Regions from separate parts of the Homo sapiens genome. Here all the other regions are linked to region 3. Evidence: promoter capture Hi-C in human tissues and cell types (Jung and others, 2019). All regions are on one chromosome and are shown on one strand. Each heading gives the region's core, a stretch centred on a gene start or on the middle of the fragment in contact. The rest is flanking DNA. Distances are from core to core; before and after follow the strand shown.

Region 1 (4,519 bases), core at 737-3,236, 1.7 Mb before region 3:
TAGTCGAAGTAAAAAGATCTAATGATGCTGAAATTAGCAGATAAGGACATTAAATAGATGTTAGAAATATTTTTAAGAATTTAAAAATAAAGGGGATATGATAAGTAAATAGATGGGGAATCTTGGTAGAGAAATGGAAACTATATAAATAAAACAAAAATTCTCAAGCTCAAAAACATAACATTTGAAATGAAAAAATTTACTGGATGGGTTTCACATTGGATATGTCACTTTGCAAAACATATCAGTAAATTTGAAGGCAGATCAATAGAAACAATCAAAACTAAGCACAGGGAGAAATAGAAAAGGTGAAAAAAGTGACAGACTCAACGATCTGTTGGACAATATAAAGCAGTCTAACTTATGTATAATTGGAATTCAAGAAAAAAATGGAAAAACTGTTAAGGTAGAAAATATACTTTAAATAATAGTTTAAAAGTTTTCAATTCTTTTAGACACATCAAATCACAGATCCAAGTATCTCAATCAAACTTACATAGAATAAATCTGAAGAAGACTGTACCAATCAGCACAGCCAGATTCCTGAAAACAAAAGATAGGGAAAGTATTTTCAAAGTAGCCAGAGAAACAGGACATCTTACATACAGAGCAACTGCAATGAGAATGACAGAATACAAATCAAAAATTTGCTAAAAGACTATTAACTCTTTAAATACAAGATAATGACAGTGTACTGTAATGTTTATTGTATATTTAGAAAATATATAAAAAGAGCAGCACACACCTTGGGATGGGGTAAATATAATTATTCTGTTGCAAGTTTCTTCCTTTGATCATGAGGTAGTTGGCTATGATAAGTTAAACATGCATGCTTTAATCTCTAGATCAGTCACTAAAAATAATACAAAGAGGTATAGCTAAAAAGTCAACAGAGAAGATAAAATAGAATACTAAAAAAGATTGATTTGTTGAAAAAGGCAAAGAAAGAGAAACAAAAAAATTGAATAAACAGAAAAAAATTAGCAATATGGTACACTTAAATCCAAATATATCAGTAATTACATTAAATGTAAATGGACTGAGTACTCCAATTAAAATGCAGAGATATTCAAATTGTATTTAAAAAACAAAACTTATATTTTTTATTGCTACAAAAACTTACTTCAAGTATAAAAATATAGACAGGTTAAAAGTCAAATGACTGAAAAAGATACATCATGTAAATGCTTATTTTAAGAAAGATGGAATGGCTATGTTAACAATAGACACAGTAGTTTTCAAAATATGAAATATTGCCAGGGATTAAGAAAGACATATCACAATGATCAAGTCATCAAGATAATATAATACTTGTTGGTGTTTATGCACTCAACAGAGTTTTAAACAACATGAATAAAAAACTAGCAAAATGAAGGAGGGTAGAAACATACATAATGCTAGTTTGAGATTTTAACATTCCTCCCCTAGTTACTGATAGAACAAGTAGTGAGAAAAAGGTGGTATAGAACAAAAAATTAGAAGAACTCTAACAGCTAACTTGACCTAAGTTACATTTATAGAACACTGTATAGAGTATTTGCTGAGATGGACTGTACACTACAAAATAAAAAAGGTCTCAATAAATTTTATAGGTTTGAGATCATAAAAGTATATTTTCTGGCCACAATATAGTTATGTTAAATATATGTAACAAAAAGATATATGGAAAATCTGTATATACTCAGAAATTAAGTATCACCATTGTAAGTGACCCAAGAGTTAAAAGAGAAATCACAGGAAAATTAAAGCCTCTTTATTCTCAGTGATAATGAAAGTATAACATAACACAATTTGTGAAACATAGTTAAAGCAATGCTGAGAGACATATTTTAGCTCTAAGTTTATGCTTATATTAGAAACAAAGAAACGTCCAACATTATCTAAGCTTCCACTGTCAGAAGCTAAAAAAAGAGAGTACATCAAACCAAAGTTGTTAGAGGAAGAAACTACTAAAATTAATAGTAGGAGTCAAAATAGGAAGTGGAAAAAAATAGGGAAAAAACCCTAATGAAGCAAAAAAATTGGCTCCTTGAATAGGTTTGATAAATCTCAAGTTAGATTAATCATGAAAAAGGAGAAAAAAACTTCCATGTTTTCTAATTAGAAATAAATGAGGGGATCTTACTATAGTTCCTGCAGTCATTAAATAAGAATATGGGAATAATGTAAACTATTGTATGCTAGTCAGTGAAAAACATATTTGCAATGGGAACATTCTTTGAAAGGCAAAAACTGTCAAAGTTCACTGATGGAGAAGCAGAAAACCAGAAGAGTGCAATATATATTAAGTAAATTTAATTCATAGTAAAAACAACCTCACATGTAAACTAGGCTCAGAGAGCTCCCTCTGGTGAACTGCAAGAAATATTTAAAGAAGAAATTATACCAATTCTGTGCAAAATTTTCTAGAAAAATGGAAGGGGGTGGACTATCAAAATTATTTGATGAGGCCAATGTTAATCTAAAGCCAAAACCAATCAATGATGTTATAAGAAAAAAAACCTACAGACCCATGGTCCTCACGAGCAGATGAGTTTTTAACAAGATATTAGCAAATCAAGTTCATCCCTATATAAAAATGTTAATGTATCATGAACCAGTGTGGTTCATCCTGGAATGCAAGATTGGTTTACAGTTTGAAAATCAATCAATGTAATTCACAACCTTAACATAATAAAGGGGGAAAAATAATAGTATCTTAAAAGATGCAGAAAAAACATTTGAGAAAGACATGCCAAACCTCCACACTCATATTTACAAGCTATTGCTAAAATAAGTTAAAGATAAATAAATAGAAAGATACACCATTTTCACAGAATTCAAGATTCAATATTGTTGTAATATCAATTGTCTCCTAATTTATCTATAGATACAAAACCCATTCTTCATGAAAATTCTCACCACACAAAGGACTAGAAGAAAATTTCCTCAAATTGATACAGGACATATCCAAAAGTTATAACTAGTATTATATTTAATGACGAAAGAGTGAATGATTTCCTTGTGGTACTGGGAACAAGGCAGGGATGTCTGCCTTCACCACTTCTATTCAACATTGGACAGAGGTCTTAGTTAGTGTCATAAGGCCAGAAAATAAAAGTCATAGAGATTGGAAAGGAAGTAGAACTGACTTTATCCTCATGGCATGATCATATATGTAGAAATTCCTAAGGAAAGATGAAAACAACTACCAGAAATAATAAGTGAATTCAGCAAGGTCACAGGACAGAACTCCAATACACAAAAGTCTACATGCTTCTATGTACCAGTAATGAAAAAGTGGAAAATTAAATTAATAAACAATACTGTTTGGACAAAAAGGTATAAAATACTTAGGTATAATCTGAAGAAAAAAAAAGACATGCCAAACCTCTACACTCACATTTACAAACAATTGCTAAAATAAGTTTAAAAAGACCTCAATAAATAGAAATGTATGCCATTTTCATAGAATCTAAGGTTCCATATTGTTACAATATCAACTGTCCCCTAATTTTTCTATAGATATGATTCGATCTCAATCAGTACTCTTGTTGAAATTGAAAGATAATTTTGAAGTTTATATGGAAATGCAAAAGACCCAGAATAGTCGAAACAATATTGATACTGCAGAACAAATACAATGTAGTAATGGCGTAAGGCTAGATAAATACCAGTGGAACAAAAGGGGAAGTCTAGGAATAGAATCAAGTCTGTATGATCAACTGATTTTCAACAAAGGTACCAAAGCAAGTTGATGAAGAAAGTCTTTTTAATAAATAGTTCTAAGAAACTAGACAACATATTGAAAAAAATGATTCTGAGCCCTACCTCACATCATATGTGAAAATGATCACAAGATGGATCACAGACCTAAATGAAAAAGCTAAAACTATAAATTTTTAAGAAGAAAATTGAGGAGATTACTTTCATGGTTTTCATTTAGGCAAGGATTTCTTAGCTAGGAGATAGAAAGCACTAACTACAAAAGAAAAAAATGACAAATTAGTTTTCATCAAATTGGAAAAATTCAGCTTGTTGAAATACACTGTTGATTAAGCTAAAAGGAATGGATAGATTGGGATGATATATTTACAATCAAGATGACTGTTTTGTATCCAGAATATAAAAACTCTTGCAACTTAATAATAAAGGATAACAAATCTCCACTTATAAAAAGTGGGCAACATACTTGAACAGAAACTTCACTGTGGAAGACACTACAAAGACATACAAATAGCCAATAAGCACTTCCAAAAGACCAGCCTGGGCCACATGGTAAAACCCCATCTCTACAAAAAATACAAAAATTAGCTGGGTGTGGTGGTGGGTACCTATAATCCCTGCTACTTGGGAGGCTAAGGTTCAAGAATCGATTGAACCGGGGAGGCAGAGGTTGCAGTGAGCTGAGATCGTGCCACCGCACTCCAGCCTGGGTGACAGGCAGAGTGAGACTCTGACTCAAAAATAAATAAATAAATAAATAAATAAATAAATAAATAATAAATAAAAAATAAAGGCTGACGGCGCTACATGTTTA
Region 2 (4,117 bases), core at 540-3,039, 1.5 Mb after region 3:
AACCACTCATGGGCCTTCGTGTCCCGAAAAGATCTTTTGACATATAGGGCCTCATTGTAATATGTTGTCTCTACCAAAAGTGAACATGGGTTGTATGTAACATGCACATTTGCCCATTAAGCATGTGTCAGCACTCCCTTCATGAATATTCATAGCTCTTCTTCTTACCTGTTGAATATGTATGTTTAGCCAATGTGTTCAGCATAAAGCTCCTGCCCAAACCTCTCCTCCTTCGAAGTGCCTGTCTCCGGCCTTGGCTGGAGGCTGTGCTCCCCAGCCTGTGAGACAGCCACCTTGTAGGCTGTAACCCTTTACAAGAAATAAAGTCTCCTCCTCTCTTTTTCTAAATTTATACACACCCAATTTTTTTAAAATTAACTCTCCCCAGCCCTATCTGCTCTGAATTGTATGTGGCTATGGGATTTATCTATTTCTTAGACTTTTGAAAATATTCTCTTTTTATTTTCTAATGTAATTTATATAAATATATTTTCTCTCTTATGAAATCAGTTTTGACATTTGGTATTTTGCTAGAAGTTTAGCCATGTTACCCATATTTTCAGATATATTTGCATAGCATTTAAATCTTATAATTACTTTTCTGAGACTTTATCCCCTTTAACATATCCCTTTTTATCTTAACTAAGTGATTTATTGCTTGCTTTTATCCCAAAGATATTTGGAATATATATATTGGTCATCGCTTTTTCCACATTTGTGTTCATTAACTTTTGCTTTCATCTTTATTTCTTTCTTTCTTTCTTCTGCTTTCATTGAGTTTATCTTCCAATTTCCAAAGTCTTTAAGAATAAATATTTAATCCATTTATGACTTTTGTTTTATTAATAAAGAAAATAAAGCATTGATTGTCCTCTGGGAATTGAATTAATATAATTTCTAGATAGTTTAATATTTCTTCTATGAGTTCCTTTTTGACCTCTTGAGTTGTTTAAAGAGACATTTTCTTCCTTTCCTTCTCTTTTGAAAAATTAGCAGATGACGGTTTTATTTATTTCTAGTCTTGTTATTACCGTGTTTAGTTTGATTGCATTGTTATAGATAAAGTTGGTTATGCCATTTCTTTATTTTTGACAGTTTTTAAAATTTTCTTTATGGCTGTATTAGTCTATTCTTGCATTTCTATAAACACCTGAGACTGGGTAATTCATAAGAAAAGAGGTTTAATTGGCTAGTAATTCTGCAGGCTGTACAGGCAGCATGGTGGCTTCTGCTTTTGGGGAGGCCTCAGGAAGCTTTCACTCACGGCAGAAGGTGAAGTGGGAGCAGGCACATCACATGGCGAAAGCAGAAGCAAGAGACAGAAAGTGAGATGCCGTTCCTTTAAACAGCCAGATCTCCAGAGAACCACTCACTATATGGTGAAGACAGCACTAACAGCATGGTGCTAAAGCATTCGTGAGAAACCCTCCCACGTGATCCAGTCACCTGCCACCAGGCTCCTCCTCTGACACCGAGTATCACAATTCAACAGGAGATTTGGGCAGGGACACAGATCCAAACCATATCAATGGCATATATGATATAATTCTTTAGGCCTGGTGCAGTGGCTCATGCCTGTAATTCCAGCACTTTGGGAGGCCAAGGCAGGTGGATTACTTGAGTCCAGGAGGAGCTTGAGACCAGCCTAGGCCACATGGCAAAAACCTATCTCTACTAAAAATAGAAAAATTAGCCAGACATGGTGGCATGTGCTTGTAGTTCCAGCTACTCAGGAGGCTGAGGCAGGAGGATCACTTGAGCCTGGGAAGTGGAGGTTGCACTGAGCCAAGATCACATCACTGCACTCCAGACTGGGCAACAGAGGCAGACCTTGTCTCCAAAAAAAAAAAAAAATTTTGTGTGTGTGTGTGTAGATTTTTAATAGGATTTGAAAGAAGTTGCATTCTCTAAAAAATATGTTTAATATAATCAATTTAATTTAATTTAGTATTTAAGGCCACTATGTTTTCATCCGTTTATGACCACTTAAGCTGTCATGAAATTCAGCATCAATTAAATTCTCATAGCTAATACATTCACATCCATTTATTGTTAAATTATCTGTCCTTTTTAAAATAAGTATCAGTGATCTATGGAAATCTATAAATGCTAAATTTTCATTTCGTATTGTATTCTAATCATTACAAAGTGTCTGCCCGGGATCCTTTTAGTAGTATGTTGCCCAAACTTGCAGGATTCAGATGATTGGTTGGTGATCCCAGTTGCTTTGTAGCTGATATTGTCATGGCAATAGCTGTGGTTGTTGTTGGTATATCTAACATGCCTGTTTGCATCTCCCCATGTTTCTAACTTTTGACTTTTCTCTTTGTTTTAGATATGTCTCTTGTACAAAACATAAACTGAATCATTTGCCAAGTGTGTTCTATATTTTGAAATCCTTATCTTTCAAACTTGCAAATGTGAGTTTTCCTTTATACATATATCAATATTTTGGATATGTTTCCTTTCATTTTTAACACTGATTTTATATTCTTTACATCATCACTTCAAGATGACTTTTTATTTGTGTTATTTTTCTTATGATGTCTTCAGAATTTCTCCTGATAATTTGCACATTATTTCTGCTTCTCTACATGCGAAAGAATTGATATTTTTTCTTCCTTCTACTCCTCTCCCTCACTTCCACTCCAAATTTATTTTATAATTTAATAATTGACAAAGTCATACACATGAAGCTACTGCCAAATGATGCAAAAACTCACAATCTTAATCACTACACAATACTTCCTCTGACATAATTCCAGTGCATATTTGATCTCTCTGTATCAATTAGACTGCTTTTGGCTGTAACATAAAGTCCTCTATCAAGGAGTTTGAGCAAAATGGAAATTTATCATCATACATAATTTAAAAATTCAGTGACAGTAACTTCAGATGTAATCAACTTCAGTGGGTCACCAACTTCATATTCTTCTCTTCTTTTCATTTTGTGTCTTTAGCATCTCCGCCAGTCCACAGAGTAACTTTCTTCATTACACTATTGGATAAACAAAGCCCTACATGAATGTAAGTTTAGAAACTGTAAGGCATATTTCAATTTCCTTATAACTTCTCTCATTAAACTTTTCTAAAAGATAATTTTTGCCATTAAAATGCATTGTAGTCATTAAAAAACATTTTAGTCATTGTTAAAGCCTTGGTTTTTTTTTATTATTTTTAGGAATAGAAATTTTTAAATATGTCATGTTAATTACAAAAGAAAACTGACAGACACGTATTTCACACTAACATATTTCCAACAAAAACATTTTATCATTGTAAGTAATTCCCTCGAGCCTAAAGATTACAAACTATATATAAACACATCTTAGTTTAGTAAATTTGACAGCAGGGAAGTCTTTAACTTTTTGTTTTGGGTGGCAGAAAAATATAACAGTTATTTGTCACTTATAAATGAAGAACAGTCACGTTTTTGAGTAAGTTATTTGTCTCAACTTGATTAGTTAGCAGATATATTTTTGGTTTTGCTCCCTAAAAATAAATGTTGCAATTTTTTAGCTAACATGAGGAAAAAAATTACACTACCACATAAAGTGTAAACAAAATTATTTTACATTCAAAGGATTTTCTTTGCAGCTTCCCTTTAATTAAAGCTGATCCCCTGCTTCTAGGAGAGCACACATTACTGATATAACACATTCCTTGATCAAAAAGAAGTTTAAATTATTTTGTACTTACTTTACTATTTAAAAGAGGAAAGCATACTTTTTTTTTTTTTTAATTTCTCACAGGCTTCATATCCAGAAGAAAGAGGGAATCTCTGTGTCTTTTTATAGGAGTAAACAATATTTTAAAGGCTTTTTGCTAGGGGACTCAGGCTAGCCTGGAGGTTGGAACTGAACGCCTTCCCCACTGCTAGCAGGGAAGAGGGGTTTCCTTTGTTCCCATTTGAGGAGAATTTACTGCCAGTGTAGCAAGGCACCGTCATGGCTAGCAACAGTTGGTCTGGTCGCAGGTGAGCCGAGATAGTGATTGGTAACACCCTCCATCCTTAGGACACCCAGAGGGCCACGAACCCCACCACAGACGCCTTACCTGATTGCCCAGTGCTTTGTACAATTCTCTTAGTTTATTTTTATTTTTTAGATACTTAAGG
Region 3 (4,512 bases), core at 1-2,500:
TGAGCACTGAAGGAACCCGGGTCCCATAAGCCCGTGCTTCTATGGGGGCTGCCCCCTCTCCCATCGCAGGGTAACTGGCACCAGGCTGTTAAGCTGTGGATGGGCAACCGCACAGTGCATTGGATGTGAGTATTTCAGTACGTGGAGCTGGCCAGTGGAGCCGGCCGAGGTCAGGCAGAGCGTACAGCAGCGCGCGTGTCCGTGGGGAGGGAGGGTCCTCCCGCCTCCCCGCCTCCCCGCCAGGCCAGTCCTGTTGCGCCTCCTCCTGCCCCACTCTGACTTTCCAGCGCCCAGGCCGGGGCGCCGCCAGGGCGTCTCTGAGGGTCGCGCCCCGATACCTTCCTCCACCCCACGGCTTCTTCCCCCCAAGGGCGGGGCTGGGGGCCCAGGAGCACCACAGCCCCCATGGGCCCGGGAAATGGCAGCTTCGTCATGGCCCAGCCCGCCACGCTCACCTTTTCCCACCACCTGGAGGATCCACTCTCCGTCCGTCCTTCCCGACCTCAGGCTGCAGAGGAAACCTGGGGGCGGGGGTCGAGGAAGCCGAGCCCCGAGGCTCCCAGCGCCGCCCCAGGAGGAATCTTGCGGGCCACTAGAAGCTGTGCGCGCGGCCGGGCTCGGCCCCCACAACGGCCCGAGCGGCCGGGCCTGCCGCGAGCCTCCGCGTCCAGGTGGGGTCTCCGCGCCCCCATTCCACCCCTCCCCGCCATCGGCGCTCCCCGCAACTGCGGGGTTTCCACCCGCCCCGGCGCTCGCGCCCACTCACGGTCTCCCTCGCCCCCCCGGGAGATGCTCCCGGCGTTCTATCCCGCCCCGCCCTGGCGCGCCCCGCAAACGATGTGACCCCGGCCCCCTGCGGTCTCCCCTCCTCCGGACGCTGCCCCTGCCCCACCTGTGGCGCTCCCGTCATCTCTAGAGCCCCCAACCAGAGTCCTCCAGCCCACCCGCGAGGCTCGCGCACCTGCGATGCGGCCCCACTAGCAGGGACCCGCCCACCTGTGGCGCTACCCCTGCCTCTGCCGCCTCCCGCACCGCTAGCGCGGCCCCCACCTACGACGACCCCCGCGTAGATGCTCCTGCCCACACCCGCCCCAGCCCCGGCCCCTGCCCCTAGCCGCGCCCGCGCCCCCTCCCCCGCAGCCCCTCCCATACGCTCGGGCCCCGCCCGTCACCGCCCATTGGCGCTGGGGCCGGGCGGGGGCGCGGGCGGGGCGGCGGTTCCGAGTCAGGCGCGCGCGGGCAGGGTCCCCATTGCCTGCTGCGCACCCGGACGTGCGGCTCCCCTCGGCCTCCTCGCCATGGACGCGGACGACTCCCGGGCCCCCAAGGGCTCCTTGCGGAAGTTCCTGGAGCACCTCTCCGGGGCCGGCAAGGCCATCGGCGTGCTGACCAGCGGCGGGGATGCTCAAGGTGCGCGCCCCCCTCCCGGCGGCGAGGGAGGGACGGACGGACGGAGCTGGGGAGAACCGGGCGAAGGCGATGGGGTGACCGGAGAGAAGAGGGGGGAAGCGATGGGGGGGACCCGGGGAAAGGTGGCGAAGCGATGGGGAGAACCGGGGAGAAGAGCGGGGAAGCGATGGGGAGAACCGGGAAGAAGCCCGCGCCCGGAAGCGGCAGGGGTACCTGCGGGGCGGCATGAGCCGGCGAGGCAGCCCCGGGGTCCTTGCCCGGTGGGGCGGGGGAGGAAGGGACATGGCGGTAGGAACCTCCATCCGGAAGATCAGTGAGTTTTCCACCTTCGGTTTTGTTTTAAATGGAACCTGGCAGAGGGAGTCGCCTGAAGCGCCCTCGGGGGTCGTTCTGCCTCTGAGCTGTAGGACGGGGCCGGGCGTCCCCTCCGAAGCGTGGGTACAGCGCGATCACTTCCTAAGTGCCCCCCCGCCCCCCAACTCCGCCGCACGCCACCCCCTAGAATGTCGAGGAAGAAACGGCTGGGTCCCCGCGCGCCTCCTGTCGCCTCGTGCCCTGCGCGGCGTGGGCGGGGTCCTGGCTGCTGCAATGCGGGACGCGGCGGGGGTGCGCGGGGTTCCCGCCTGGCGTCTCCAGGGCGGTCCGGCAGCCCCTCGCGTTTCCGCTGGGAGATTTTTAAAAAGGGTTTCCTGCGCTCGCATGTGCTGTCGCCTTCCGGCTCGTGACAAAAACGAAAACCAAAATGGGTCCCAGGCCCTCCCCGCCAGCCTCCGCAGACGGGAAGGATCAGGAAGCGGGGACTCCGGGATGTCAGCGGCGCCGCGGCGCGGGCTCCGGGCTTCCCTGCCCTGCAATGTGGAAGCTGCTCTCTAGGAGGGGCCCGAGGCTGGGCCCACGGACGCGGGCGCGCCGGGAGGATATTTAACATTGAAGAGCGGAAGGTGGCGGAGACTCGGCGCGCCCCAGGCCCCGGGTGCACGTGGGGGCGCCGGTGCCCGGATGATGGAGTGTCCCGATCCGTGCAATCCCTGGCGGGTAGATCGGCGCTTCCCAGGCGAACGCAACCTGGGAGCCTTAGCGATCGCGCAGGCTGGAGACGCGGCGCGCCCCGAGCTGGGTTTTGATTTTTGTTTTCCCGGTTCCTCCTGCCGCAGATGCGTGGAAAGGCCCGGATGGCGGATTTCCTCCCGTTTCGGGGCCGCGCACTGCACAGGGTTGGAGCGGGGATGCACCCCCTGCCCACTGCGCGGGTGACCTTCCCTTCGCCCTTGAGCGCGCGGGGCGGGCGCGGGTGCCGCAGGTTGAGGCGCTGTGGGCGCCGCCCCGCCCGCCACGAGCGCCTACGTGATGCCCGGCCCGTCGTCTCCACGAGCCCCGGCCCCGACACCCGTGCGCCGCGCGCTCCCCAGGCCCGCAGCGCAGCCTCCCCAGGCCCAGCGCCCCCCGCGGGAGACCCGGGTGGCAGCGCCAGGCCCCGCCCCGCAGCCCGCCCTGCAGCGCCCCCGGGAAGTGCTCTGGCGTTAGCATTCCAGTAAAAGGACCCCAGCATCAACGTTCTTCCTGCAGGGCTGGGTTCTCAGAGAAAGAAAACGTGATGCAGCAGAGGATGGGATTGAAGAAACAGGAGAGTGAAGTGGAAATAGCCTGGCCCGCGTGACTTAAACCGGCCCGGAGATGTGCGGGTACGAATGGAGCCGCCTTGGGGTCGGGATAGGACCCAGAGTGGCTTCTCAGTCAAAGGCCTTCAGAAGCAGAGGGAGCACCTTGAGTGACCTTACCTGGGCCGCGAAAGACAAGAAACCTTTGGCACAGGAAGAGGAACTGATCTCTGGAAGCCACCAGGGCGGGTGGAAAGTCAGGGTTTCAAGGTTATTTTGGAATTTAGGTGCTGTGGGCCTTGTACGGTGGCTCATGCTTGTCATCCCAGTGCTTTGGGAGGCCGAGGCAGGAGGCTCGCTTGAGCCGAGGAGTTCCAGAGCATCCTGGGCAACATAGTGAGACTCTGTGTCTACAAAAAAAAAGAAAGAAAAAAAATTAAGATACTGCATGTATTGGAAAATATTTATGGGTCATTCCTTTGAGCTCCATGTCCAAAAGCTTGCTAAAATGCGCGGGAGTTTGTGTACAGGCATGTGAGATTAGGATACATTGGCAGAATCGCGGTGTTCTCTGTTACCCTGGTTTTGCCACCTGGGAGGAGTTAGACATATTGAAGGTTAGTAAGTCCACGCCTCTTCTTTTCTGGGGAAAATGATACTTTGGAAACCAATATTATGTGGGGAACGCGGCTTGGTTGCTGCAACCTCGGGTTAATAGGAGACAGCTGCCCTCAGCTCTGCAGGTGGCATCAAATATGGTGGCCTCGAGCCCACATGGGTCACACCTGGGCTGTCCCTGGGGAAGCCCGCCATGGCGGGTCGCCTGGGCACTCTTTCCCTGGCAGAGCTGAAGTCACAATTTTTTTGTAGACTCTGTAAAGAGCTTTACCCTTCGGTGATACGATCTTGAACCTGTTGGAGCATTTGGACGCATTTCTTTTAAGGAAGTTCACCTCCAGATGTACTCAGAGGGCCTGGTCTTAGCTGCCACAGATTTACAAACCCTTACAGTAAGTAGGTTATTCCTCGAGAATATCTCAGTGTCCCCATTCTTTTACCATTTTATTCTGATTCTATGTTAGTACTTGATTTTCCCTGACATAGAAGACTATTGCTTGTAGCTAGAGATGAGAGAACATATTCACATTCACGTATTAATTTCAGGGGAATTTTCTGTCAGATGTGAAATTATGGTAAAATTCCGTATATTAAGATGATCATAGCTACCATTTGTTGAAAACATTTTGTATTCTAAGAGCTTTACACTTCTTATCTCCAAGCCTAAATACATGATCCCAAGAGAGGCGTGTCCTCATTTTGGAAGTGGGGAGAAAGACTCAGAAAGAAAAGTAAGTTAGGTAAGGGCATGAGGTGCATACGTGATTGTGATAGGAGCAAAACAGATCTTAATTCCAAATATTGTACTCTCCCGTAGACCACGAAGAGTACTTATGTCTGGCTGTGTCACCCAGGCCAGAGTGTAGTGGTGCCATCATAGCTCACT
Region 4 (4,567 bases), core at 11-2,510, 1.6 Mb before region 3:
TACTATCTCTCTTCTGCAGACTTTATTTCTCTCATTTGGCTGAGAAGGAGAAAAATCCTTGAAAATTGGTTTGAAAAGTGGTGTGCAAAAACAGTCAGAGCTAAAATTTCTTGGGCACACAATTTTCTTTAAATGCTCGCATGTTCATCATGCACCCTCACGTTAAACACTCGCGTGTGAGAAACTGAGAAGGAGAAGTTGCCGGACAGCTGAGCGTCCCTGTGCCGCTGCCACCCCAGGCTGCCGCCCACCGCTCAAGCTCAGAGCTAGAGCCCTGTCCACGCTGTCGTCCCTTCCTGTGGCTCCAAGTCTGTTCTGTCCAAGTCACTTCTCCATGAAAATGCTGGGTGGAACGTAAGGAATGGGAAGAAGCTTAAGCCATTCCTCTTATAGACCTGGGCAACCACATGGCGTTTATTCTCCAGAATATTCATTTGATGGGGACCTCTGGGAAATGCTATGGCAGCTACACTCATTGCCTTTCTGCATAGGTAGGTGTGCATGCATGTATGCAGGTGAGGAGGCACATGTGTAAGTGCGTGTGTCTGTGGGTGTGGAGGTGTGTATGTAGGCGTGCATATAGGTACATATACAGGGAGGGATGGATGTAGGTACAAATGCAGGTACCCATGTAGACATCCACCTATGTTGGCATGCAGGTGTGTATGTAGGCACCTATGTAGATATGTATGTAGGTACATATGTGGCTATGTAGGTGGATTTGTAGGTGCACTTGTAGGTAGGTGTGCAGGTATCTATGCAGGTAGGTATGGAAATGGGTACAGATGTAGGTATGCATGTAGGTATGTGTCTATGTCGGCATTCAGGTATGTATACAGGTACATATATAAGTATGTAGGTGGATTTGTAGGTGCGCTTGCAGGAAGGTACCTATGTAGGTATGTAGGTGGATTTCTATGTGCACTTATAGGTAGGTATGCATGTAGATACCTGTGTAGGTATGTAGGTGGATTAGTAGGTGCATTTGTAGGTAGCTATGCATGTAGATACCTATGTAGGTATGTAGGTGGATCTGTAGGTGTACTTGGAGGTAAGTGTGCAGGTAGGTATTTATGTAGGTATGTAGGTGGATTTGTAGGTGTACTTGGAGGTAGGTACCTATGTAGGTATGCAGGTAGATATGTAGGTGCACTTGTGAGCATGTGTGTACATATACAGATGTGTAGGTAGATTTGTAAGTGCACTAATAGATAGATCTCTACCTAAGAGGCATGGATATAGGTGCAGATGCAGGCAGACATGTAGACATGTACCTATGGCAGCATGTGGGGGGATATGTAGGCACCACGCAGCTCCGCACGCAGCCTGCATCAACAACTCTCACCCGCCAGTCTCTGGCCGCTGCCCACTTGCAGTGGGTGGGGGCAGAAGAGTCCACCAAGCGTCCCAGGTCTCGTCAGCATAGTTGATGACTCTCCTGGTCTGATCCACAAGGCTGAAACACTAACTTGTTCATTGCTGTCCTGTCACCTTGTCACAACACGTGCCCCGGTGGGATGGAATAATAACGCTCCGTCTATGGCGAAGGCTTAGGCTTTGCAGAATTGTTTGGGGTGAGAATGAGGCAGCCCTGATCCCCCATGTTCATTCCTCTGTCTCACCCACCTTGAGTGTTTGAAACCAGAAACGATTCTAATTCAGACTTGCAATGTGATTGTAATGGACAAAATATTGGCCTTGGCTTGGAGTGTTCAAGTTACGTCCAATGAGAAATAAAATATATGACTCTCCCTCTCTCTTCTAACTTCATCATTGGATTCCAGCAATTGAATGTTTGTGAAGGCTTGGCAGGGAATTAAAATCTATTTCAGCTGGCAGAAGCTCTGAGGTGCTGTATTTCTGGCCTATGTATGGTTGTATTGAAGGGAGAAGATGCACAGTTCCTAGAGGTGCCACATCGGCTACTCATTCATCTTTGAGTTTTGTGGTTGGGCCAATTATCTCAAGCTCTACTGTAAACCTCGTTAGAGGAAAAACACAATGAAAATGTGTGTGTGCATGTGTATGTGTGTGGACGCCTGTGTGTGTGTGTGTGTGTGTGTGTGTGTGTGTGTGTTGTTAAGCACATCTCAGAGATGCTTTCTAGATGGCATCTATTCCAGGTTTATCTGTTTGGGAGATGATAAATAGAATTCTTAATTATTGCATTATTCTCTCTAAATTCCAGATCATTAATATATTCTACAGAGGTAACTCTAGATGGATAATTAAGTAAATCATCTGGAGAGTCGAACAATATAGACACAAAGTCTGCACATTTCAGGTGGAGCTATTAAAAACACCAAGGTCTTTAGGGACTGGCTGTGTCTGGCCAGAGTTAATCAAGCTAGGTTTATAACAGATTTGCTTTGGCTGTATATTAAGCAGTTAGGGCTGCTTTCATACAAATATATTCTACTGTGTCTTCCTTGGACTGTGTTTTATTTTCTTATTTTTGACAGAAATATGGGTATACAGACCTCAAGAAAAAGCAGGGGTGCAAAAGAAACGACGGCCAGCCATCAGCATCAGCCTCAGAACTGAGGGTGACCAGGGTTGGTGGGGACTGACCAGAGACACCATGACTCATTGCTACCACATGGGAAGGTATCCAGGACTGCCAGATATTTCAGGAGGAGCCAGAAATCTCGATTTACTGGTGTAAGAGAGTCCCACATTTAAAATGCAAGAGGAGTGAACGTCACTGGAATTGAGATAGATGAAGTACATGTAACTGGTTTAGGGTTGGAAGAGGAAAGAAGAGAGAACACGCGAATCTCTGTTCTAAGTCTCCCACTCAGACCTCCCACACAGACCTCTGTGCTCTCAGTGCTCATTGTGTGTGAGAATTATCTGCAAGAACTCTAGAAAGTCGTGGAGCCCTGGGCCCCACCAGAGAGGCTCATCAGCTGCACGCGTGGGTGCCGTGGGAGCCCGGATGCTGGGGAGGCCGGATTTCAGCCCTGCTCCCCTTGGCCAAGGCCTTGGATAGCAAACCTGGAAAGTCAAACCAAATCCATCTACGACTGGGTGAGACTCAGGTGAAGGGTTGTCAAGTTATCTGGTGATTCTGATGCAGCATTAGGGTTGGGAACCCCAGTAACATTTAAATTACTTGAGCTCTTCAGTTGCAAGTTATTGAAAACAAGTGAAAACAAAAAGACTAAATAAACATTCTCCACACACACACTCACACTTCTCGTAAACAGAATTTGGCAAGATAAGCTCTTGCTGGTCTGGGAGCTGGACTTCTTTATAGCTCTTGAGGGGAAGGAGAGGAGGTGCCTGCTGCTGAGTGGAGACCCTGTGGGCTCACCCATGCCCTGCCCTGACCTGCTCCCGGCCCTGGGTTGTGGGCGAAGCTATAGCCTCACACTTCATTTTGGGCCAAGGGTTAGGTGGGGTAAATAAAGGTCATGGAACATGACTTGGGATATCTGACTTATTCCTAAAGTGTAGTTGGAATAAAGCAGGAAGAAAAGAATATAGACATTTGGGAACGGACATGGTTTAGGGAAAAAGTTTAGGTATTACAAAATGTGCAAAAAGATGTTTGTTTTGCAATTTATGTTTTCAGGCTGGTGTGAACTAAATACAGATTGACAGCTCTGAAGAACCAAGAGTGGTCAGAAAAACAAAAGTGTGGTGGTAGCTCTTCACCTACTGGGAGTTAAAAACACGTGCCGCGGGTGTGAGGAGAGCTTGGCATGATTCCACAGAGGAGGAAGAAAAAAGGAAACAAACAAACAAACAAACAGATGAAAGGGAATTTGTTGAATTTACAATGAATTAGAGTCTTTCCATTGTACTAATTTAAAAGTTAATATATCAGCTTCAAATTTTTCATAAATTGTGGTAATTTCCAAGAAGGTCATCTACATGTTTCTTGGTTTGCTTTGAGAAAGCACTCAATATAAAGAATCCATTCCATTACTTTTTATGTATTAAAATCTCTCTTAAGCATCTGACTATTTCATAATTTATAAGCTAGTGTAGACTTTTGAGGCAAGCATTTTCTTTGAAAAGATACAGACATTATCTCAGATTTGGCAAAGAAAAAAAAAAAGGATGTACAAACATCCTACAGTTGGCACTGCCTTTTAAAGCACATCCAAAAATGACCCACAGCAAAGTGACAATGGTAATATTTGCTCACATCACATGAGCAGGTCTGAGTAGCCAATGACCTGTGTCTGGGTTGCTGGTGTGATGTATTACAGTTTCTACAATTTGCTGCAGGCAGAAATCTTAATTAAGGCCTTTCCTAAAGAGTGACCTTCAGGGAGGGCATTACTGAATTGGTGTGAAAATAGACAAGTGGCCAAATTGCCCTGGTGGGACGGTGGAGAACTTGGATATCTCTCTCCCACCAAAGAATGGGCTGTGCTGGATATAGGCCAGGCTGCAGGATCAATGATCAATGATCAATGAGCCCTGCACCCCATGAAATAGCCTAACACTGGGGAGACGTGAAAGGGAGGACTTTTCTTTTTGGCGAATGCACGTCCGCTCCTCACACTGGAATATTCTGCATCTCCCTGCATGCATGTCTTCTCTGTGAATTCTG
Region 5 (4,321 bases), core at 1,480-3,979, 2.0 Mb before region 3:
TGGGTAAAATGCCTTTTTTTTTTTTTTTTTTTTTTTAAGATGGGAGTCTTGCCCTGTTGCCTAGGCTATAGTGCAGTGGTGCTATCTTGGCTCACTGCAACCTCCGCCTCCCAGGTTCAAACAATTCTTCTGCCTCAGCCTCCCGAGTAGCTGGGATTACAGGCACCTGCCACCATGCCTGGCTAATTTTTACATTTTTAGTAGAGACAGGGTTTCACCACATCGGCCAAGCTGGTCTCAAACTGCTAACCTCAAATGATCCACCTGCCTTGGCCTCCCAAAGTGCTGGGATTACAGGCGTGAGCCACCATGCCTGGCCCCAGTAAAATGCTTTTAAACAGCATCACATGCGGTAGAGAAATCTTTTGTAAAAGGAGAAATCAATTGCTATAGCAGACTCCATTGCTGTCCTATTTTAAGAAATTGCCCCAGCCTTCAGCAGCCACCACCCTTATCAGTCAGCAGCCATCAGCATCGAGGCAGGACCCTCCACCAGCAAAAAGATTATGACTTACCAAAGGCTCAGATGACTGTTAGTGTTTTTTAGTGGTAAAATTTATCTTACTTAAGAAATGCACATTGCGTTTTTAGAGGTAATGCGGTTGCTCACTTAACAGACTACAGGATGGTGTGGCTATGGCTTCTGTATGCACCGGAAAACCAGACAGCTCTTGTGATCCGCCTTACTGCGATCTTCACCTCACAGCGTGTTCTGGAATGAACGGAACCCGCAGAAGCTCCGAGATTGCCTGTGTTTGTCCTAACCACCAGGAGCTGCAGCTGGAAGTCAGTGCTTTTCACCTGAACTAAGTTCTTTTCTGTTCGTGTGTTTTTCACCCGGCAGTGTAATTCCATAAGTCTGGCCCTCTCCTGGCTGCTGCATTCCCTTGCACACACCCAGGGGGCTGAACCCACACGCAGGCCATTCCAGCGTGGGCCCTCACTGTGCAGACCGTGGGTGAATAGACGTGCCTGCAAGAGGCTTTTGCTGTCATGACATTTGCCTGTTTAGATCTCAGCCTCAGCCCTCAGACCTCCCTCAGCACACCCCAATCCCGTAGAGTTTTCCTCCCCTCCCCATCTCCCTTTTTTGTTTTTTTTTTTTTGTTGTTGTTATTTTGGTTGCTATAAAAAGGAGCTGACAGGCGAGGTGTCACTGGCCATTAAGCCTCCTCTGTGGGTGGCAGGTGGCTCTGCCTTGTGCCGGGCTGGCAGTGTTTGCAATGCGGATAAACTTTAGCATTGAAAAAAACAGGAGATCATCTCAACATGGATGCAATATTTGAGGATGCAAAGTTTTTTGTTTTCTTCCTTTTTAATTCTTTGCAAACGATTTTAACTTTATTCCCAAAATGTGGTCTTTGGTGCTTTCTTCTAAAGAAAACAAAACACACATCTAACCAAACAAAATTTTAAAAGATCAGTTGAGAAATTATAATGATCACTTTGAAGTGATGACATGTTTGTGTGCTTTTATTTCCAAACACCTGGGGGAGAGATTTGGTACTAAACACTGAGTTCTAGATCATGTGCTCAGAAAGGTAAACACAGTTTTGCAGCTTGTGTCATGGTGTTAACAGTTTTCCTTATGCTTTTAAAGGGAAAAGATGTTTGGAAATCGACATTTTTAACTGGATGATGGGCAGTTTTAATTGCACCTGAACTTTGTGCTTGGTCACAGTCAGCATGCAGGTGTCAGCTTGGGTGTGGGCCTCTGGGTGCTGTCCGGCCAGCTGGCCGCCTGGGAGGTGCGTGTTGGAAAGGACGCATGTGGTCTCTAAATCAGTTTGCTTTCCACTTTCAGATCTGCTTTCTTTTTGGTGATGGCTTTTGAGTCCTTGTCTGTGGGGAAGGTGGAGAGCCAGCCATCTACCAGGTGGTGACTTTGCAGACAGCAGGGCCCTGTGGAAGGGCCTCTGGGGCGGAAGTGACATGGAGATGAGGACGGCCTGCAGGCTGTGGGGCCTTGGAAGCACACCTGTGTCTCCTCTCAGTGTTACATCCCCTACCCATATGCCTGAAAGCTTGGTGGTTGTCTTTTTAATTAGATTACATTAGAGTACTTTAACAAAATGTTGTATGTATTCATGGGGTGTGAGTGCAGTTTTGCTACCTTGATGTACTCCACTCAGGTGAGGCCAGGGCCTTCAGCATACCCCTCATTGGAGTGATGCTCGTTGCACGCACCAGGCAACCTCCCGTCATCCACCCCGCCCCAGGTCTCCACTCTGTCCATCAGTCTTGTATCCACCCCACCCTGGGTTGTCTCTGCCCTGTCCATCAGTCCTCCCGTCATCCCCCCTGCCCTGGGTCATCTCTGCCCTGTCCATCACCCACCCCGCCCCGGGTCTCTGCCATGTCTCTCAGTCCTCCCGTCACCCACCCCTCCCCGGGTCTCTGTTCTGTCTCTCAGTCCTCCCGTCACCCACCTCACCCTGGGTCTCCACCCTGTCTGTCAGTCCTCCGCTGTCCCTGTGTGCACGTAGTTTTGCTCCCACTTGCCAAGGAGGACACACGCTCTTTGTCTTTCAGTGTTTGCATTGTTTCACTTAAGATAATGGCCCCCAGTTCTATCCATGTTGCTGCATAAATTAATAAAGGTGATTTTATTTTTAGGAAGTGTATAGATTTATATAAATACAACTCTTAATAATAACTGGCTGATATCCAAGGTTATCATAAAACCCAGGCTAGGGTCACTAAGGACTCCATCTGTCGCCCGTGACAGCTTTTCGGAGCTTTGCTGGTTGGCCTGAGTATGGTGCAGATTCCAGAGAACTGTAGTGGGCAGCAGTTGGCGGGAACAGAACCTCACTGCAGCAGTCATGTTCAGGGGTGGTCTTGGGTGTTTCCTTTGTATTAGTTAGTGAATGTTTTGTCTTGTGACCACAGAAACTGCCAAGGAGACGTTAGCAGATACAGTGTGCAGCTGGGCACACCTAGGCCCAGTGGTTCTTTCTGTGCAAAGGAGAATCCTTGTCTCTTACCAGCAGAGCAGCGCTGTCCGTGCCACCACCTGCAGAGCTGCCGTTCCATCCTCCTCTCTCAGTGTCCTGTGATATGAACCTAACAGTAACTTCCTGAGCCAGTCCCTTGTTGATGCATGTTTTTAAATTTTTATTGGTTTATTTTTTTGAGACAGGGCGTCACCCTCTCGCCTAGGCTGGACTGCAGTGGCATGATCACGGCTCACTGCAATCTCGACTTCCTGGGCTCAAGTGATCCTCCCACCTCACCCTCCTGAGTAGCAGGGACTACAGGGCTGTGCCACCACTCCCTGCTAATGTTTGTATTTTTTGTAGAGATGGAGTCTCACCATGTTGCTTAGGCTGCTCTCGAAATCTTGGCCGCAAGTGATCCTCTTGCCTCAGCCTCCAAAGTGCTGGGATTACAGGCATGACCCACTGAGCCTGGCTGCCTATTGATGCATTTTAAAGTCGCTTCCAAGTTAGAATATTGTTTTTAAAAGTGAGAGGAGATTTAGTGTATCTCTGTTTTACCCTTTTAAAGTTCCTCATTTAAGAAGGGCTACTCAGGAACTCATAAATAAGGACTTAAGGAAATGATTGCGTTTGAATCGCTCTACTGGACAGCTTTGTTTCGGCCTGTCAGATTCTGTCACTTTTCTTTGAGATGACTGTAAGACAGCCATCAGGCTATTGACACATACTCAAAACTTCCTAACTGTGAGGTACTTCAGGACAGACTCCGGAGACAGGTGGGGGTGTCTGAGTCCACAAGTCAGCAGAAACCAGCATGATACGCAGAGCGGGCAGCATGGGGAGGGGTGGCTGCCTAAAGCGTCAGCTGACGTTTGGAAAAGATGGTGGTGACCATGCTGTGTGCATGGCCACTGCAGAGCCAGGGCCCGGGTGGCATGTGAGGGTCGCCTGGCAGCCTCTTATCAGCATCTGCGCTGCGTGCACTCAGCCACCCTCAGCCAGCTCTGTTTGAAGTCCCTGCACGCATCTGAGCCGCGTGCACTCAGCCACCCTCAACCAGCTCTGTTTGAAGTCCCTGCACACATCTGAGCCGCGTGCACTCAGCCACCCTCAGCCAGCCCTACTTGAAGTCCCTGCACACATCTGAGCCGTGTGCACTCAGCCACCCTCAGCCAGCTCTGTTTGAAGTCCCTGCACGCATCTGAGCCAGGTGCACTCAGCCACCCTCAGCCAGCTGTTTGAAGTCCATGCACACATCTGAGCCGCGTGCACTCAGCCACCCTCAGCCAGCCCTACTTGAAGTCCCTGCACACATCTGAGCCGTGTGCACTCAGCCACCCTCAGCCAGCTCTGTTTGAAGTCCCTGCACGCATCTGAGC
Region 6 (4,188 bases), core at 500-2,999, 2.0 Mb before region 3:
CCACGCCCGGCTATTTTTTGTATTTTCAGTAGAGACACCCTGTTGGTCAGGCTGGTCTCAAACTCCTGACCTCGTGATCCACCTGCCTTGGCCTCCCAAAGTGCTGGGATTACAGACGTGAGCCACCTCACCCAGCCTCGAATGGTTTCTTTAGTTTTTTGAGAACTCTATGAATTGTGATCTTGCTTATTAGAATATTATTCATGTCTTTGTTTATATAACACTAATATATAGCATTTTTTCTGTGTGCGAGTTTTGGAAGTGGTGAGTACACTTAAACATAAAAACATACTTTAGATTTTTGAAAACTTTTTTCTTCCCAGTACGTAGAGAAATCGACACTCTTAATGAACGTTTAGCTGCTGAAGGACAAGCGATTGATGGAGCAGAGCTGAGTAAGGGCCAACTCAAAACAAAAGGTAAGGTGAATCCCATGAAAGTCTTGTCCTGCAGATTATACATGCAGGAAATTTGGAATTTAGTGAAGGATGCTGGCTGGTTTGCGTTTTGCTGTCAGCAGACCTCGAACTATCTAATTCAGGTGTGGGTCTAGGAGAATAAGGAGCTCGGTTCTTGTTCCTGTTCTGCCATGGCTCTGTGTCACTAGGGTCAAACGAGCCTTTCTGGGCCCCCTTTCTTCCTGTGCAAGACACAAGACCCATTTGTGAGGCTATAGGTCTTTGATTGTGTGATTGTGTTTGATTGTCACTCTCTGTCCCTGCAGCCAGTCACAGCACCAGCCAGCTCTCCCAGAAACTGAAGACCACTTACAAGGCTTCCACCAGCAAGGTATGCAGGCCACTGGCTCTTGAGCCATCATGTGGTGGTTAAGGTGTGCAGATGTGTACTTTAAGTTGTTTATTTTCCAATTAGAAAGGCATAGCAGAAAAAGATAAATGGTTTTAAGGGAAATTTAGTTTTTTAAAGGAATGTCCTGGCTGGGCATGGTGGCTCATGCTTGTAATCCCAGCACTTTGGGAGGCTGAGGTGGATGGATCACTTGAGGTCAGGAGTTTGAGACCAGCTTGGACAACATGGTGAAACCCTGTCTCTACTAAAAATACAAAAATTAGCTGGGTGTGGTGGCGGGTGCCTGTAATCCCAGCTACTTGAGAGGCTGAGGCATGAGAATTGCTTAAGCCTGGGAGGTGGAGGTTGCAGTGAGCCGAGCTTACACCACCGCACTCTAGCCTGGGCAACAGAGCGAGATTCCGACTCCAAAAAAAAAAAAAAGAATGTCACTATGCAGGCATTTACATAGTAGCTTACCCTAGTACCTACAGGGATTAATATATGATGTATTAGTAAATATATTGTCTTTAGAGGGAATATATAATTTCTCTTGTTAATTGGCTTAATATAAAGGGTCTGAATTTGGAGGAAGCTAATAAATAGGTACAAATTAGTGAAAATTATGTTCTGAGCTAAAGTTACATTTTAGTTCATTATGTTCTTTTCCTCAGTTTCCTAAGTGTGATCAGGAAGTGAAGGTCTGTCTCTAAGGCAAATAGGGATGTTCATGGTTTTTGTATTTTCTTAAAGTATCTCGTGCTGACCTTCTTAAAGTGGAAAGGGTTTAATTGTTTGGGAATTCATTTGTCTGTGATGGATTACTATCAAGTGATATTTTGAGGTAATTTTGTATGCATCTGTACTTTGGCATATTTCAAGGATACAAAGATAAATTGAAATTTTCAGTGATCTTGCTATGATGGTGTAAGTAGTTCTTGTTAGCTTTTTATTTTTCCAATTTGTTTCCTTGAGTTTAAAGTTAATTTAGCATGACATCTATAGTAAGATTAACTGCAATTAATAGAGCAAATTTAGTCCTTCTGCCGTTTGTCCTCACTTGATAGTCTTTGGTAATTCTTTGTTATTCAAAAGAAAATCTGAAATTGTTGGTATTTTCTACTGTACTTTCCTTCGATAACATCTAGAATGTAAGTTGCTAATTTATTTGATTTTTTTTTTGGCCATGTAATGTCTAGCTTATACTTACAAGTTTTGAACTTTTTAATAAATTAACTTGAAGCTTTTTCTTCATAATGAAGTGTGAAATTATGTTCTTCCTCATTTAATTTCTTTTTACATTATCTTGGATTATGTTGTTTTTTCTGGTGTGTACAGTTGTATATATACAATGTATGGTCTTGGAATTCCAAAACTTTCTCATTATTACTGAAGTAGAGGAAGAAATGATTATATAAAGTTGTCCTTTACCATGAGCAGTAAAAAATAAGATTTGGACAAGGGTAAGGATATGTATAGTAATGCTTTGCTTTAAAAAATGTATTAGAGATATTTAAAGCCCAGTCATTTTAGGTACTAGAAATTCATCTGAATTTATAAGAAGCATATTACTAATGATCTTTATAGCCTTTGCACACTGCCCATACCCATTGTAAAAAATAACTATGAAAATATAAGACATCTGAAGATTGAAGAAATAATTTGGTAACAGAATATATTCTGATTCGTACTACAGTGTGGATTCTTGGTGCCAAAGCTAAGCATGAATGCAACAAGAGAAAGGCTACAGTCTAGCTTTATTACTTTCCCTCCTTCTGACCCAGAGCCACGAAAAGCAAGTAACGTGCCTGGTGGGATAGCGGGAACACAAAAGTGTGTTACGTGAACGCAGAAGAGGTTTTTCCCCTTCCTGGGTGGCTAATGAGATTTCTGATGCCTACGGGGGAGGGAAGTGAGGAAGTCTAACCTGCAGCCCTCTTTAAAGAAACTTATAAAAATCAGAAAGGGCTTTTTCCACAAAGAAAGACACTTATCTTCTCAAAAATATTTGCAAACATTTTCACAACCGTGCTTTAGATTGCGCCGCAGTTCAAACGATCTGGGATGATGGGCGTGAGCGTCAGTTTGCGGCTTTGTTCTGCTGCTTTTCTGTTATGAACGTTCCCTCTAGGTAATTCAGTCTGTTTTGTTGGGCCTCTTGGTAATGACGACTAAGTCAGCTTTTCTAAGGAAAAAGAGTTAAGGTAATAGATGGTCAAAGTGCAGTGGGCATTTTGGAAGCAACACATGAGAAAATATTTGAAAACGGCACATGATCCCCTGCACAGCTCCAGCAGCACAGCTCCAGCAGCACAGCTCCAGCAGCAGTGCAGTCAGAGCCTCTGGGAAGGAGCCACTCTGTTCTTACCCTGCGAATGGAGCAGGTGAAGAATGTAACTCTAGTAGTTTGTTTCTTATAATACTGTTATTAATGTTAGAAGTGGTGAGAGATTTGGAAAATGAAATTTACGACAATACTGTTACTTATGTTAGAAATGGTGAGAGGCCTGGAAAATGAAATTTACTACAATACGGTTATTAATGTTAGAAATGGTGAGAGACTTGGAAAGTGAAATTTACCACCGCTTATTATGGTGGGAGGTTGTGTGTGTCCTTTAATTTCACTCCCTCCTAAAATGTTACAATGTTATTTAACATCTGAATGACACTTTCTGTAAGCAAAAGCATCTCCCATGTTGTGGAGGCATAATTTTCCTGGATTGAATAGGATATTAGTGTTCAGAAAGAAAAGAGGATAATGATGGGTTTGAGGTTGAACAAGTGCTTTTGCAATTCCTCTGACCAGTTGCAGTGGAAGTTCTTCCTGTTACTGGTGAAAATGTTGGCCTCTTCCTCAGCCTTTTATATCACTGTATCCGAGGAGAATAACTCGAGGGTGCGGACCCAAATCCATGTGACAGTGGGTTGTGCTTTATGGTCTTAGGAAGAATGAATTTAGATGTGTTTTTCAGGGCTATGCCAAATCAGTGTTTGAAACAAGTTGTGTAATGCCACTGATTTTAGTTCTTCACTTAGTTTTTTTGTTTTATTCTGAAAAGTCTACATTATTCTGATTTACTTAACAGCTGGACAGCTGTTTTCTTACCAAAGAAAAATTTAAAAAGCAAACTCTGCAGAAATCGTTGTGTTGAATTAGTTTCTTCCTCACTCACTTCATATTTTTCCTGACAAGAGGGCATGAGAACTGTCTGCTGTGTGTGTCGTCATTCGAGACGATGCCTTTCTGTGGTCCGTGATGTGTTCGCGTTGTCTCCTGCTGGGCTGAGCATGTCCAAAAGGCCAGGGGCCTACGGCCGCGCTGCCCTGCATCCTCATAGCTGGTGCCTGTTCTGAGCGAGCGCCAAGTCTCGGGCAAACCGGCACACCTATTAGTGTCGT

The links. The method cuts DNA at HindIII sites, captures the fragments that hold promoters and counts their contacts. A contact is called where the count stands out against the background at its distance.
Region 1: a fragment that was not itself captured here is called in contact with the fragment with the promoter of PFKP in region 3 in 1 of the 25 tissues and cell types used here (dorsolateral prefrontal cortex).
Region 2: a contact is called between a fragment that was not itself captured here and the fragment with the promoter of PFKP in region 3, in 1 of the 25 tissues and cell types used here (dorsolateral prefrontal cortex).
Region 4: a fragment that was not itself captured here is called in contact with the fragment with the promoter of PFKP in region 3 in 1 of the 25 tissues and cell types used here (lymphoblastoid cells).
Region 5: a fragment that was not itself captured here is called in contact with the fragment with the promoter of PFKP in region 3 in 1 of the 25 tissues and cell types used here (dorsolateral prefrontal cortex).
Region 6: a fragment that was not itself captured here is called in contact with the fragment with the promoter of PFKP in region 3 in 1 of the 25 tissues and cell types used here (dorsolateral prefrontal cortex).

The regions. Positions count from the first base shown.
Region 1 is chr10:1,385,305-1,389,823 of GRCh38, forward strand. All of the region lies in intron 1 of ADARB2 (adenosine deaminase RNA specific B2 (inactive)), which reads right to left. Among named protein-coding and RNA genes, the nearest start is that of ADARB2-AS1, 140 kb to the right of the region's middle. The HindIII fragment of the contact is 6,824 bases long and covers 1-4,519 here.
Region 2 is chr10:4,603,121-4,607,237 of GRCh38, forward strand. No RefSeq gene overlaps it. Among named protein-coding and RNA genes, the nearest start is that of LINC00705, 51 kb to the right of the region's middle. The HindIII fragment of the contact is 7,033 bases long and covers 1-4,117 here.
Region 3 is chr10:3,066,298-3,070,809 of GRCh38, forward strand. It overlaps PFKP (phosphofructokinase, platelet), which reads left to right and starts at 1,251. Exons shown (of 22, transcript NM_002627.5): 1 at 1,251-1,410. The coding sequence starts at 1,299. LOC124902536 (wiskott-Aldrich syndrome protein family member 1-like) reads left to right here and starts at 273. Exons shown (of 1, transcript XM_047426132.1): 1 at 273-1,051. The coding sequence starts at 406. The coding sequence ends at 843. PFKP-DT (PFKP divergent transcript) reads right to left here and starts at 636. Exons shown (of 4, transcript NR_160681.1): 1 at 456-636. RefSeq lists silencers at 980-1,079, 1,090-1,489, 1,910-2,089, 2,503-2,683, 2,770-2,969 and an enhancer at 2,290-2,359. The HindIII fragment of the contact is 12,531 bases long and covers 1-4,512 here.
Region 4 is chr10:1,484,171-1,488,737 of GRCh38, forward strand. All of the region lies in intron 1 of ADARB2 (adenosine deaminase RNA specific B2 (inactive)), which reads right to left. Among named protein-coding and RNA genes, the nearest start is that of ADARB2-AS1, 40 kb to the right of the region's middle. The HindIII fragment of the contact is 9,278 bases long and covers 1-4,567 here.
Region 5 is chr10:1,113,938-1,118,258 of GRCh38, forward strand. All of the region lies in intron 11 of WDR37 (WD repeat domain 37), which reads left to right. Among named protein-coding and RNA genes, the nearest start is that of LINC00200, 44 kb to the right of the region's middle. RefSeq lists an enhancer at 3,552-4,053. The HindIII fragment of the contact is 4,843 bases long and covers 309-4,321 here.
Region 6 is chr10:1,079,688-1,083,875 of GRCh38, forward strand. WDR37 (WD repeat domain 37) reads left to right here. Exons shown (of 14, transcript NM_014023.4): 4 at 324-419; 5 at 725-789. Among named protein-coding and RNA genes, the nearest start is that of WDR37, 25 kb to the left of the region's middle. The HindIII fragment of the contact is 5,397 bases long and covers 1-4,188 here.